2 separate regions of the Homo sapiens genome follow, and region 1 is linked to region 2. Evidence: promoter capture Hi-C in human tissues and cell types (Jung and others, 2019). All regions are on one chromosome and are shown on one strand. Each heading gives the region's core, a stretch centred on a gene start or on the middle of the fragment in contact. The rest is flanking DNA. Distances are from core to core; before and after follow the strand shown.

The links. Contacts are between HindIII fragments. The study calls those that stand out against the background at their distance.
Region 1: a contact is called between the fragment with the promoter of LRRC3 here and the fragment with the promoter of TRPM2 in region 2, in 1 of the 25 tissues and cell types used here (mesendoderm cells).

Annotation. Positions count from the first base shown.
Region 1 is chr21:44,452,891-44,459,634 of GRCh38, reverse strand. It overlaps LRRC3 (leucine rich repeat containing 3), which reads right to left and starts at 4,125. Exons shown (of 2, transcript NM_030891.6): 1 at 3,980-4,125; 2 at 1-3,137. The coding sequence starts at 2,990. The coding sequence ends at 2,217. LRRC3-DT (LRRC3 divergent transcript) reads left to right here and starts at 4,351. Exons shown (of 4, transcript NR_047476.1): 1 at 4,351-4,391; 2 at 4,583-4,658. RefSeq lists silencers at 3,767-4,196, 4,285-4,464 and an enhancer at 4,628-5,128. The HindIII fragment of the contact is 13,764 bases long and covers 1-6,094 here.
Region 2 is chr21:44,351,820-44,359,418 of GRCh38, reverse strand. TRPM2 (transient receptor potential cation channel subfamily M member 2) reads right to left here and starts at 5,798. Exons shown (of 32, transcript NM_003307.4): 1 at 5,554-5,798; 2 at 4,683-4,771. The coding sequence starts at 5,718. RefSeq lists enhancers at 5,323-5,372, 5,533-5,582. The HindIII fragment of the contact is 21,861 bases long and covers 1-7,599 here.

The DNA.
Region 1 (6,744 bases), core at 2,876-5,375, 100 kb before region 2:
TGGCTGGCACCCACAGGACACAGGGCTGAGGAGAGGCCCTGCCTTCACCACCCAGGCCTCAGTTCACACTCTCCTTGGGACCTGGGGTCATGCGTGCTGGGCAAACCCACCACAGGCACCCTGGCATGGAGAAGGGGTGGCAGGAGGACGCCAATCACCATGTGACCCTAGGCCTGCTGGCCAGGCCAGCAACAGTTCACCTGCCCTACCTGCATCTATCAGACAGCCAGGGATGGCACCAGTCATTCACCTATACATCCTTATCCTATGCTTTCAGCCACGTGTCCTCTGGAAGGAAATCCCCACGGGCCCAGGGCACTCTGCTGTGTCAGCGCCCACTTCCTCCAAACAGTGGAGCTGGACACCCCGCCACATGCTGGCCCTGCCTGGACCACAAGGACCACGTGGCCCCACACCAGCACGGGTGCACCCCCGGGGGCTGGCACTTGGTTCTAGCTCTCACTGGAAGGGTGAGTGGCGCTGCCAGTTTCCGTGGAGGTCTCTGTCCTCCGAGCATGGCGACACTCAGGCAGCGTGGCGTGAGGGAAGCAGGCGGAGCCTGGGGCTGCCTCCACTCATACACTGGGCCTGGCCCCTCACCCACCCCGCGTCTGCACTGTGGGCAGAGCAAAGCCTACCAAGCACCTCACAACACAGACACCCCCGTGACTCACACTGCACACACGGGGTACCTCAGAACCAGTGCACACACCCTGGACAGGCTCTCACCTTCCAAGTCACCTGATACTTTCCAAAGAGAAACCACCCTCAACTTCCATTCATTTTTAAGCATCTGTTTGGCGAAGCATCTCTACATACCTACACTTCAGTCCACACACAATGTACACTGATCACTCATTTACACCCCCCCCAAAAATACTCAAAGTACTTTAAAATATAAACACTCATAAAAAGGACAATAAAAAATAAAATTAGGAATTACTATCATATAGGTGGAGGTAACATCTAACCTGAATGTGAAGTAAGGTTAGTAAATTGAGCACTAAATTATCTCTGAGATTCCTGGCAGCAAAGGTGAAAAGAGAGAGTTCCTGTTGCTGGAGAAAACGAAGCATCCCATTGATTGGCCTTGAAACATCAATCCCCAGTACTCCGGGCCTTGGAAAAAGAGCTGTTTTATATCTTAGTGAGTAGAAAAAGCAAGGCACAGGGCCGGGCGCGGTGGCTGACGCCTGTAATCCCAGCACTTTGGGAGGCTGAGGCGGGCGGATCACTTGAGGCCAACAGTTCGAGACCAGCCTGGCCAACATGGTGAAACCCGGTCTCTACTAAAAATACAAAAATTAGCCAGGCGTGGTGGCTCATGCCTGTAATTCCAGCTACTAGGGAGGCTGAGGCAGCAGAAGTGATTGAGCCTGGGAGGCAAAGGTTGCAGTGAGCTGAGATCGCCCTGGGGCAGGGCCTCCCGCATCAGGCACACCCAGAGGGGCAGGAAGCAGGCGGGCCCCCAGGTATGTGGCTGCTGTCTTCCCCTGGGCAAGCTACCCTGGACTTTTCCCAGGTCTCTCTCCATATTGTTCACCCCATTACTGAACTGAAATTTTGGCACTACGGTTACTCAAAACAAACATTTGAGAATAAAAAAGGGTAGGACAGTTTGTTTGAGCTACACATCCCACTTAGCTCTCTAGAAAAACCTGGTCTCTGTTACTTTGCTCTGGAAACAGGGCTTACGTTCCAATGTACTTCGAACACTGGAACAAGGCTCATGTTTACCTACAATGCACTTTGTAAGTAAACAAGGGCAAGTCAGCTCCTCAGCACAGGACTTATCAGCGCCTTCAGCGGGTGAACCTGCACCCAAGCTCCCTCTGGTGAACCCTCTCGCTTGCAGAGCACCCCCTTAGTCCTCTGAGTGCATATCCACAGCCTGCAGGGCCCCGTGTGGGAGAGGCTGGCATGGTGGAAGGAGGCGGAATGTCACGATGGACAGCCCGGGTTGAAGTTCCACTGGGATAATTTCCTGATGGTATCGTCACGGGCAGTCATTCCGTTCCTCTAAGCTTCAGGTTCCTCATCCGTCACACGGATGTGTGGCAAAACCACCCAGCCTGGAGGTGCTGCTGTGCCTGAGTGCAACAGTGGGGAGCACACATGGCTGTGACACCTGCCTCAGGGAAGAGCAAAAGCAGCATCAGTCACCACCTACTACAAAAGTGACAGCAGCCACCGGCGGGGGTCTGCCGGAACAGGCGCTAGGGCCCCGGGCCGATGGGGTCCTTGGAGGCGGGGGCGCTGGGCAGAGACTTCAGGTACTCCAGGTGCCTCCGGGCATCCTCCTGGTTGTGGCGCACATAGTACACGACGTAGGCGATCACCATGGCGAACCAGCCGAACATGGTGACCAGCATGGCCACGTCTGTGGTCCTGTGGGGGACGCTGCAGAGGCTGGCACCCGCATCCAGAGCCTGAACCAGAGGCTTCCCCACAAACTCCTCCTGCACTGAGGTGTGGCAGGCGATCTCGTCCACAGAGTCGGGGTCCAGCTTCAGCTCCCACAGGGCCTCCTGCAGGGCGCACTCGCAGTGCAGGGGGTTGTGGGACAGGCGTATCTTGGCGCTGAGTTTGCCCAGGGCGTCCTTGGGGATCCTCTGGATGCGGTTGTAAGACAGGTCCAGCAGCCGCAGGCCCCCGGCCAGGCCCGCGAAGGTGGCGGAGCCGATGGCCTCGATGGCGTTGTGAGACAGATCCAGCTCCCTGAGCCGGTGCAGGTGCTGGAAGGCCCCGTCCGGGAGGTGGGAGATCTTGTTGGCATCGAGCTTCAGGAGCACGGTGTTGGCCGGGATGTCCTCGGGGACCTCCTGAAGGCCCCGCAAGCTGCAGAAGACAGCCACAGCCCCTGCGTGGTCAGGGCACCGGCAGGGCTGTGGGCAGGCGGCGCCCAGGTGCAGGCAGAAGAGGAGGAAGAGACAAGACTCCCGGGTGGAGACCAGCAGGAGCGAGGGGCGAGGTGGGCGCACGGTGCCCATCCTGACCTGACCTGGGGACGGGGACACGCGAGCCTCTGCTAGGGCCTGGGGATGGAGCTGGTTTCCGCAGGCAAGGCCTTATCCAACCAGACATGAAACCGCCATCCTGCCCCGCTGGGAGAAGCAGTGCAGTCCACTCTGGCAGCTCTGAAAGGGAAGACGCAGGAGGGAGCGGAGAGGGAGGGAGGGTGGTCAGCACTGCCGGCTGCGGTCACCTGGGAAACGCGTCCACTGGTGGGGAGGGTGTTGAGGGCCCACTGAAGGGTCTGGGGTGGGGAGCACGCCTCCTTAAACAGCTCTGCCTGTAACTTACTTCTGGAGACTCCCAATGCGCCCGGGAGGAGCGTCCCACAAGTGCAGGGAGCTGGCACTGCCAGGGGGCTCCGCATGGCCCAGTGGGTGGTCACTGCGGCCACCCCTGGCCACCTACAGCACCGCTGGGGACCAAAGGCCGGGCGGCGGAGTGGCGGCGGCTTGGACCACCCAGCCCCTCCCTCCTCAGGGTGGACGCCAGGAGGACGGTGACGGCTGCAGCTTCTCCCGAACCTGGAGCGCGGGTCAAGCTGGGCACGTGGCCGGGCACCAGCGGGCGCTCGCGCGCCAGGGGCTACTCCAGCAGCCAACGCCTGGCTGACTCCGACAACCCCTAAAAACTGTCATAACCCAGCAAGCCCTTCCCTGCCAGCCCTAAAGGAGCCGCGGCTCGCACCGGGCACAGAACCGCGCCTTTTCTTTCAACTGCCTGAAGAAGGAAACCGAGAAAACAGAGAAGCCAAGCCCTGTGCGCGCGGCCCGCGCTGGGCGTGGACGGCGGGGCCGCGCGCGGAGCCGGCCGGGAGAGGCTCGGACCCCCAGGACCTCCAGCCTTTAGACCCTCCGGCCCTAGGACCCCCGGAACCTGGGACCCCCGAGACCCCAGCACTCGCGGCGGGGGGATGGTCATGGGGTGGGTGGGAATCCACGCTCCCAGGGCTGGGCGGGGGCTTTACCTGCGCGGCGGCGGCCGGAGGCTGCTCTGCGCGCCGCTCCCGGGCCTCTCGGAGCCCGCCAGACCCAGCTCCACGCCTGGCGCGGCGGCCACCCCGCTGCCCCTGCGACCGCGCCCGCGACCACTAGCTGGGGAGGCCGCGACTCCGGCCTGCGCGGGCGAGGGGCGGGGTGGGGCGGGGCCTGGAGGGGGCGGGGCGAAAGGCGGAGACAGGCTGTGTCGATTCCCCGCGGGGGCGGGGAAGGGGCGGGGCATGTAAGGAGACCGGAACGGGATTTGTGGTTAGGCGGGGGCGGGGCTTGAGGGCGGGTTCTGCGGCAGGGCGGGGCCTGGAAGAGATGGGGGAGGGGCATGGGAGGGGCATGGGAGGGGCCGGTGGTGCGGCTTTAGATGGAGCTGGTACTAAGACCCAGGTCGCAGGGGCTGTGGGCGGGTTGTGGGAGTAATTGTGGCATGCTGGGGGCGTGGTTGTGGGGCTGAGGACGAGGTGGTGGGGGCTGAGGGCGTGGTTATGGGTGGGGGCGGGGTCTGCGCGCCGGGAGGGGCTGTGGGTCCAGCCCCTGCCCCTCACTCTGGGCAAATCCCCTCTTCCCTCTGGCATCAGGACTTCTGGGGCTTGAAGACCCTGGGTCTGCGGGAAGCCCCTGCTGAGCGTCCCTCGCCTACCCCGTGGCCAGTGGGTGAGTAGGGCTAGATCTCCGCCCATCTAGGTCCCCTTCTGCTCCAGCTCCAGCGTCTGACATCCCAAGGAAGGAACGCAGGGTGGGGGCATTTGAGCCGGACCTGAGCCATCCTCATGGTTTTCAAAAAGTAGCCTTATTGTGGTGTAATTGACAGACGGTAAGCCACATATTTCAATTTGGTACGTTTTAACACTCGGATACTCCTGTGAAACCATCACCACAATCAGCATAGTGAACACCCCGGGTTCCCTCTTGGTCATCTCTCCCTGCCCTCCCTCATCCCCAGGCAAGCACTGATCTGCATTCTGTCACTACTGATTACTTTGCATTTCCTATGATTTGCACAAATGGAATCATATAATATGTACTTTTTGTGTAGCTTCTTTCACTCAGCACAATTATTTTTGAGATTTGCCTGCGTCATTTGGTTTGTCAATGCGTATTTCTTTTACAGCTGCATGGTACTCCAGTGTATGAATGTACCACAGTTTGTGTCCATTCACCTGCTGGTGGGCATTTGGGTTGTTTCTGGTGTTGGCTCTTACAGATAAAGCTGATCCGAACATTGTGCACAAGTCTTTGGATGAATGCTTTTCTTTCTCTTGAATAGATGTCTAGGAGTGGAGTGGCTGGATGCCACGGTAGCCATATGTGAAACTTTTTAAGAAACTGCCAAAGCGATTGTATGGTTTTACATTCCACATCCTCCCCAGCACTTGGTATGGTTTGTCTTTTTAATTTCAAATACTCTAATAGGTGTGTGGTGATAGATGGAACTGTGGTTTTAATTTGCGTTTCCCTGTTGGCCAATGATGTTGAGCATCATTTCATCTGTTTATTCTCCATCTCCTGTAGTAAGCGTTGAGTTCAAATCTTTTACTCACTTTTAATTGGGTTGTTTATTTTCTTATTATTGAGTTTGGGAGTTTGTTGCATATTCTGGATACAAGTCCTTTATCAGATATGTGATCTGTAAATGCTTTCTCCAAGCCTTTGGATTGTGTGTTCATTCTCTTAACAGTTTTTCAAAGAGCAGAATTTTTTAATTTTGAGGAAATCCAATTTATGTTTTTCTTTTATGGATCCTGCTTTTGGTGTCATATATAAGAAATCTTTGCCTCACCCAAAGTCACAAGGGTTTTAGAGTTTTAAAGGTTTGCATTTGGGTCTATTACCTATTTTAAGTTTATTTGGGTTTATAGTATGAGATATGATTCAATGTTTATTTTTTGTGTATGTGGATAATCAGTTTTTTCCAGACTGTTGAAAAGACTATCCTTTCTCTTGTTTGCTGAGAGTCTTTTTAATCAGGAATGAAAGTTGGATTTTGTTTTTTCTGCATCTATTGAGAATCTTTTTGCGTGATGATCTATTAATATGATAGAGTATAATGATTGATTTTAAAGTGTTAAATCAATCTTGTGTTCTTGGGATAAAGCCCACGTGGTCATGATGTATTATCATTTTTATATGTGGTTGAATTATTTAATGGATATACAACTGCTGAGTTTATTTTATTCTTGACTGAATGTATGTAGTTTGTATCGCTCAAGAAATTGCCCATCGCATATAAGTTGTTGAATTTATTAGCATAAAGTTGTTCATAATATTCCTTTATCCTTTCAACATCTGTGAAGTATGAGGTGATGTCATCTTTCTCATTTCTGATACTGGCAATTGTGGCTTTTTTTTTAACTGAACAATCAGATAGCAGTTTATCAATTGTATTGATCTTCTCAAAGAAATAGCTTTTTGGTTTCGTTGATGCACTTTTTTTTCATTGACTTCCACTCTTTATTCTTTCTTTTGCTTGTTTTTTTGTTTGTTTGTTTTTGTTTTTGTTTTTGTTTTTGAGACAGAGTCTTGCCTTGTTGCCCAAGCTGGAGTTCAGTGGGGGCAATCTCGGCTCACTGCAAACTCCATCTTCCGGGTTCAAGTGATTCTCCTGCCTCAGCCTCCTGAGTAGCTGGGATTACAGGCATGTGCCACCATGCCCAGCTAATTTTTGTATATTTTTAGTAGAGATGGGGTTTCACCATGTTGACCAGGCTTGTCTCGAACTCCTGACCTCAGGTTATCCACC
Region 2 (7,599 bases), core at 4,549-7,048:
CTACAAATCCAAATCCGTACAAACCCCTAAGGTCACGCTCAAGGCACTTCAGACTTGCAGGGATCTTGCGAGCACCTGATGTTGAGAGGTGAAGCCAGCTAGACTTCTGGGTTGGGTGCGGACTTGGAGAACTTTTCTGTCTTACAAGAGGATTGTAAAATGCGCCAATCAGCACACCATAAAATGGACCAATTGGTGCTCTGTAAAATGGACCAATCCGCACACTGTAAAATGGACCAAGCCATGCTCTGTAAAATGGACCAATCAGCACACTGTAAAATGGACCAAGCAGTGCTCTGTAAAATGGACCAATCAGCACACTGTAAAATGGACCAAGCAGTGCTCTGTAAAATGGACCAATCAGCGCTCTGTAAAATGGACCAATCAGCAGGACACGGGCGGGGACAAATAAGGGAATAAAAGCTGGCCACCCCTCCAGCCAGCAGCGGCAAACTGCTCGGGTCCCCTTTCACGCTGAGGAGTCTTTGTTCTTTCGCTCTTCACAATATATCTTGCTGCTGCTCACTCTTTGGGTCCCTGCCATCTTCAAGAGCTGTGACACTCACCGCGAAGGTCCCCGGCTTCACTCTTGAAGTCAGCGAGACCAAGACCCCCGGGAAGGAACCAACTCCGGACACAATGTGACCTCCACTGTTTATGGATGAGAGACCTGGGTCGGAGGTGGGGAAAGGAGTTCCCTAGACAAGGACCTGAGCTCTCCCGTCTTGCTCCAATGCTGCCCCAAATGTCCTTGTATGTTCCTAACAGCCTATCACAAGCTACCTCCTGTCCCTCTTGTCCTTGAACGATCACCTCTGATGAGATTGGAACTTGAACCTGCATGGCGTTTGCAAGCCTGATGTGATGCTGGAAACTGCATTGCGGACACTGATCCAGAAATTACATCGCCGGAGAGCTCGCTCGGAACTCGGCCCAGATAGGCGTAAACGGGACACCACCCCCGGCACCCCACGGGAAATGAGAGCTCTTGGAGGTGTATTCTCTCCAACCTGGGCTCCTTCCTGCCACCCAAGGGGGGCTCCCTGCCTCCCCACCCCCACCGCATGTGCGCGTGAATTCTGAGGCATCCCCTCCAGTCTCTGCGCTCACAGATGAGGATTGGTGGCCCAGGGAAGAGAAGTCATCTGCCCAAGGTCATGAGATCCATGGTGGCAAAATGTGAGCACAAAGGTCTGGACCAGGGTGGCCACAGCAGACACGGAAATGAGACGAGTCTGTGCAGAGCTGAGGAGGGTTACCAGGACGTGGGGCTAAGCAGTGGGATTACCCGGGCGGGTGTCGAGGGGCTCCAGGTCTGGACGAGTGGGGTAGGAAGACCCTACCATGCTTAATGGAAACATGTAAGTGGTATAAATAAATCTGCTTGAAAAGCTGTGTTTGTGGCAGACGATGCTCACCACTCGTTCCGCCCTGGTCTTTCCACAAGAAGGAGGGACATTCCATCCACTCCTCAGGAAGGAACAGCCAGGAACACACCTGGTCCCTCTTCCCATCCTGCTGCAGTGACCACCGTGGTTGGTGAGATGAGAGCGGCTTCTGTGCGGGACAGACTCGGTGCAGCAGATCTCAGGTTGCCTTCTCAGAGGGGCCTGCTTTCAAGGTGGTGTCTGGGAACGGGGCTTTTGGAGCGTCTCTCCGTCCCCTGACTGCTAGGAGTGCTTTGCCGGGCCTGGACTGTTCCTGCAATGGGTTTGTGCTGAACAGCTGCTTTCCTGCTGGGAGTCTGGGATTTGGGTGGTTGCCATGCAGAGGGGCCCACGTGGCCAGCGCAGGATGCACGCCCTGGGCTCTGAGCCTCGAATGGGCTTTGCAGGTGGCCACGTGCTTCTCGGCTAGAGGAAGGAGCATGCATGGCGCCTGCACAGGAGAGCCGCAGCAGCCTGCCCTCAGATTCTCCAGACTCGGCCTGTGTCTTTCTCCCTTGCCAAGCCCATCACGTAGGCCTTCACCATGATAAACCTTAGCTGTGTGCACAGCTGTGAGTCCTAGCAAACCCCTGAGCATGGGGGATGGCTTTGGGGACCTCCAGAAGCAAGTCTGTCCTGCTTACATCTGATCCAGGTCAGCACCCCTTCCTCTCTGGGCCCTGCTGCCCCAAGGGTTTCCACTTCCATGTGAGAAGCACGCAGAGCCGACTGGCAGAGGCCCCAGACCCACGGGGCCTCACCTAGGCTTCTCAGGACACAGCAGGTCAGGGTGTCAGCGGCGTTCAAACCAGAGTGAGTCCCATCTTGAATAGGCGCTGGGTGAAATGAGGCTGAAACCTGCTGGGCTGCCTTCCCAGACGGTTAAGGCATTCTAAGTCACAGGATGAGACAAGAGGTCAGCAGAAGACACAGGTCACAAAGACCCTGCTGATAAAACAGGGTGCAAGACACTGGGTAAAACCCACCAAAACCAAGATGGCGACGAAAGTGGGCTCTGGTTATCCTCGCTGCCCATTACACGCTAATTATAACATATTAACATGTAAGAGACACTCCCACCAGCACCATGACAGTTGGCAGATGCCATGGCAACATCAGAAATACCCTGTATGGTCTGAAAGAAAGAGGAAATCAGTTCTGGGAAATCCCCGCTCCTTTCCCATAAAACTCATGAATAATCCACCCTTGTTAAGCACATGATCCAAAACTACCATAAAAATAGCCAACCAGCCAAGCACGGTGGCTTATGCCTGAAATCCCAGCACTTTGGGAGGCCAAGGCTGGTGGATCACCTGAGGTCAGGAGTTCCAGACCAGCCTGGCCAACATGGTGAATCGCATGAACCTGGGAGACGAAGGTTGCAGCGAGCCAAGATCATGCCATTGCACTCCAGCCTGGGCGACAGAGCGAGACCCCGTCTCAAAAAAAAAAAAAAAAAATAGCCAAGCAGCAGCCCTCAGGGCTGCTCTGCCTATGGAGAAGCCATTCTTTTATTCCTTTACATTGTTAATAACTTGCTTTCACTTTACTCTGTGGACTCGCTCCAAATACTTTCTCGTGTGAGATCCAAGAACCCGCCCTTGGGGTCTGGATCGGGACCCCTTTCCAGTAACAAGGGTGAGCTCCGAGGCTGGAGTACCACTGCTCTACAGACCCCGCTCCTTCCACATGGGGCTCTTCATCACTGTCTCTACATCCAGCCCTCCATGGCCGCGAGTTTTGCATCTGCAGATTCAGCCAAACGCAGACTAAAAATATTCAGGAAAAAAAAAACAATTAAAAATAACATAGCCAGATGCAGTGGCTCACGCCTGTAATCCCAGCACTTTGGGAGGCCGAGGCGGGTGGATCACCTGCCTCGGCCTCCCAAAGTGCTGGGATTACAGGCGTGAGCCACCGCGCCCGGCCCAAAAATACAAATTTTTTAAATGCAGTATAACTATTTTTATAACATCTACATTGTATCAGGTATTATAAGTAATCTAGAGATGATTTAAAGTATGCTGAAGGATGTACATAGTTTATATGCAAATACCACACCATCTCATATCAGTGACTTGATATGAGATTTTGGGACTGATACGAGATATGGGATTTTGGTGTCCGTGGGTGTCCGGGAACAATTCCCCAGGGATGCGGAGGGACAGCTGTTGTATTGGTGACCGTGAAACTCTGATGATGTACCGAGTACACTAGAGGTACCCTGGGGCAACACAGTCTTCTTCTATTTCCCAAGCACAGGATGCTTCTCCCTCCCCATATTCAGTAAATATGAGCTGAAGGCCACTCTCTGGGAATTAACACAACACTCTGCTTTCGTCCCAGCCCCCCAGAAGCTCAGCAGCTAGCAAGAAAGATGAACACAAAGCCACACAGTTACAGCACGACAGCTGGGATCAAAGAGAAACACACGGTGCGGTAGGAGGGAAGCTCACTTCCTGGTAGAGGTTGTATAGTCACGGAAGGCTGCACGGCAGAGGCAGCATCTGCAATAGGCCTTGAGGGATAAGTAGGAGCTCACCAGGCAATGGAGTAAAAGGAGGAAGCGTGTGGCCCATTTGTGGAAGAGCATGAAATGGGTGTTGCTCGGGGAGGGCACACAAACATGAATCAACACTCTGTCCGTGCCTAAAGGGGCGCCAACTGCGGGGAGCACCATCGGCTCCGGAGGGCCATATCCAGCCACTCAGAGACAGTGGCCATGTTGCCTGGGCGGGGGTCTTGGCCACACCTGAGTCGTGGGCTCTGTGGGGAGGAGGGGCAAAGGGGGCTCTGTGGGGCCTGGGGGCAAGTCGGGCCTCTGGCTTTGGCAAGCTGTGCAGGGGGGCAGTCTTCTGGCCATGGACTCTCCCTAAGGCCCTTCCAGTTCCTGGACCCTGGGACTCTCTCTCTTGGGGTGGGGGCAGGTGTGGAAATGAGAGGATTAGAGGATGCATCTGTGTTCACACCACTGGGCCTCGCCGCGCGACAGTGCCCTTATGACCCTGAACAAGTCACCTAAACTCTGCACTTTGGTCCCTGCACCTGCGAGGCAGGATGAGGGTCAACTGTCCCCGACAGGAGGCTTGCAAGGGTTAGGTGGAAATGCTCTGTGGACTCTAAGCCTCGTATGGAGACAGAGGTATCTCCAGTGACCCTTCACTGAGGCCCTGAGGGGTCTTGGCCTGATCAGCTACTCCATGTGGGATCGGAAGGAAGAAGTCAGAGGTCTTACACACAAATCACGTCACTTACCCAGCATCAGACAGTTTGGAACTTTCCACAAAATACACGCATTCTTTCTTCTTGATGTTTTCAGGAATCCACGAACTGAGGCTTTCTTGCTGAAGGTAAAGACAGCACACTGAGATCTTCCAACATTCGAAAGAGCACACCCAGCCCCCTGGAGACACATCTGAGCTCCTTGAGGAGCTTTCACACTATTTGCTTGAAGGAAGGAAGCCTGCGCGACCCTGAGCCAAAGATTAGAAGCACCTTGCCAAGACTCTCCGGTGGGGATTCAGGAGGGAGGAATGAATCTAAGAAATCATTTCCTCTTGGGACCATTTTGAATGTGCGCGCACTTTACAGTTTCTACAGCACCACCACCTTCCTTGGGAACAACATGGTGTGGTGGAAAACGTGGAGGCTGGGGATCTGGGGACCTGGATCTTGCACCATCGGAAAAAGGGCAGCCACCCTCCTGCCTGCCTGGCAAGGGGACTGCAAGATGCCATGTGCTTTCAACATACTTGTGTCTTTGTATCCAGGGCTTTGGGGAAAGCTAGCCCAGGCCCAGGCCCTCCCAATCGGATAAAGGATGTGAAATCATTATGCAACAAGGTAAGCACGGGTAACAGATTTCCAGGACTCTAGCGCAACATTTTTGAGTTAACCCGGTGATTTCCCAATCAGACCAACCATGGGAAATGGTCATGCAACCCACAGAAGACGAGACACGCATCACCCTCCCCAGTTCTGTTCTCCCAAAGGTATGGTTGGGCAGGAGCCCCCAAGGTCAGCAGACCCTTTCCCACCCCCGTCGTCACAGCCTCAAGCTATGACCTGCCCAACGGTGACCTCCGTGGCCACGTGCCAACTGCAGGCTGACCAGCAGAAAGCCTACCTTGTCATTGTTGCCGAAGGGGCACTGTAGCCTCCAGCTCTTGAAGAGGCTGCTGTTGCTGCGCCGGAGATTGGAGACCATCCCCAGGTCAGTGACCCTTCTGGGCAGCCCCTCAAAGCCCTCCTCCTGCTCCGAGCCAGCTTTCCTCAGGGCTGAGGGCTCCATTCTGAGACCCCCACGCCAGCTGCAACCAGGCCTGCTGCCCTCAGGACAGTCCTCTCTCCAGCTCGCTACACTGGGGTTCTAGAGACACATGGGGTGGTTGCTGAAATAGATCAGAGACAGGAAGATGAGGCTGATGTTCTGAGAGGACCTGGCCACATGCTTCCTCATGTGAAGCCCTCATCCGGTTCTCTTCATCAGCCTGCACATGTTCCCAGCTGCCTGAGCTGTGTCCCTTGGCTGGGGCCCCCGGACACTCTGGGGGAGTACATGCACATGCGGGGGTCCCAGCGGCCGTTCATAATGGTAACAACCTCAGGTGACTGCAGGGCCAGAGAAAGAGCTCCCTCCCCCACGGGTGCAGCTGCACTGAGCACCGCACAGGGAAGTCTCCACCGCCAGCACCAGCTGCCAGCGACATGGTTTCGCAACTGTACAATTCTGCACAGCTCCTGCTTCCAGACACCAGTGACTACTTTCATATTCCAAAATTTTTTTAAATAGCCCTCACTGTCCACAAAGGAAGTTTCTTTTTCTTCTTGTTTTTTGAGACGGAGTCCCACTTTGTCGCTCAGGCTGGAGTTCAGTGACGCAGTCTCGGCTCACTGCAACCTCGGTCTCCCTGGTTCAAGTGATTCTCCTGCCTTAGCCTCCCCAGTAGCTGGGATTATGGGCGCCAATCACCACACCCTGCTAATTTTTTTTGTATGTAGTAGCAACAGGGTTTCACCATGTTGGTCAGGTTGGTCTCAAACTCCTGACCTCAGGCGATCCACCAGCCTCCGCTTCCCAAAGTGCTGGTTTTACAGGCGTGAGCCACTGTGCCCAGCCTAGAAAGGAAGTTTTGGGGAGTACCACATCTCTCCACTCCAGGAAAAAGACAATAATTCAAATGAATCTTTTTCTCTCATATCCTTTCCCCCTGGCTCTGATGTGGCCTTCATCACCGAGGCCACAAGAAGCCACCGGATGACTGCCCTCCCTTTACAAATGAGAAACATAAGCATGTTCAAGCCCTGCGGGGCCTCCCTGAGTCCCTGACACCCACAGTGTTCTCATGAGGTCATCCATGGTCATCCCCTGCCACTGCCCCAAAGGTGTCAAGGGGAGGGTTGCTGGGATGCAAAAGATCTGACTGGAATCCCCCCTCATCCCTGCCCTGAAACCAGATCTCTGGCCACGTCCTCTCCACTACACACGACGGTCACTGTCAGACAAGCCTTTGCTCTGCCGTCCCCTCATCACATTAGGTGACTGAGCCCCTCTTCGGGGCCACGCAGCTCGAAGCTCGGTGCCGGGCTCTTGGGGCTGAGCTACGGGCTGCTGTCCTGGGGCGGGCACTCTCAGGCAACCCCACCTCCCCCTCTCCCTCCTCCCCTTTGCCCCTTGGCCACACTCATTCCGAGACCCGTAAACTTCACTGGCAGGATGGCAGGGGTGCCCTGCCCGGCCTTTTCCTGCAGTTCTCAGAGCAGATGTTGTGCCGCATGCCAGTGGGGTCTTTCCAGGGCCATGAGCTGTCCCCGCAGCCACTGGCCCGGCTTCACAACCAGCTTCCGAGGGAAGCAGAGGGGCAGAGATGTCCCCAGTGGCAGGAGGAAGAGGAGGCTCTAGAGAGATCGCAGTGGCACCGCAAGGGGACCCAGACTGCAGGTGGCTCCCCAGGCAGGCGGTCCACCCTGCACGGGATGAGGATGGCTCCACGCTGGAAACGAAGACCCCAGCATCAGACGGGAGGGTCCACGGTGTGGGACTCTCTGCCTTAAGACCAGCATGTTCTGTTCACACGCTCATCTTTCAGGCAGCTGTCCACCTCAGCACAGCCCCTGGGGTCTTGTGCAGGTTCCTCTAATCCCAGAGGCAAGCAGGCCCTGGGAAGCAGGT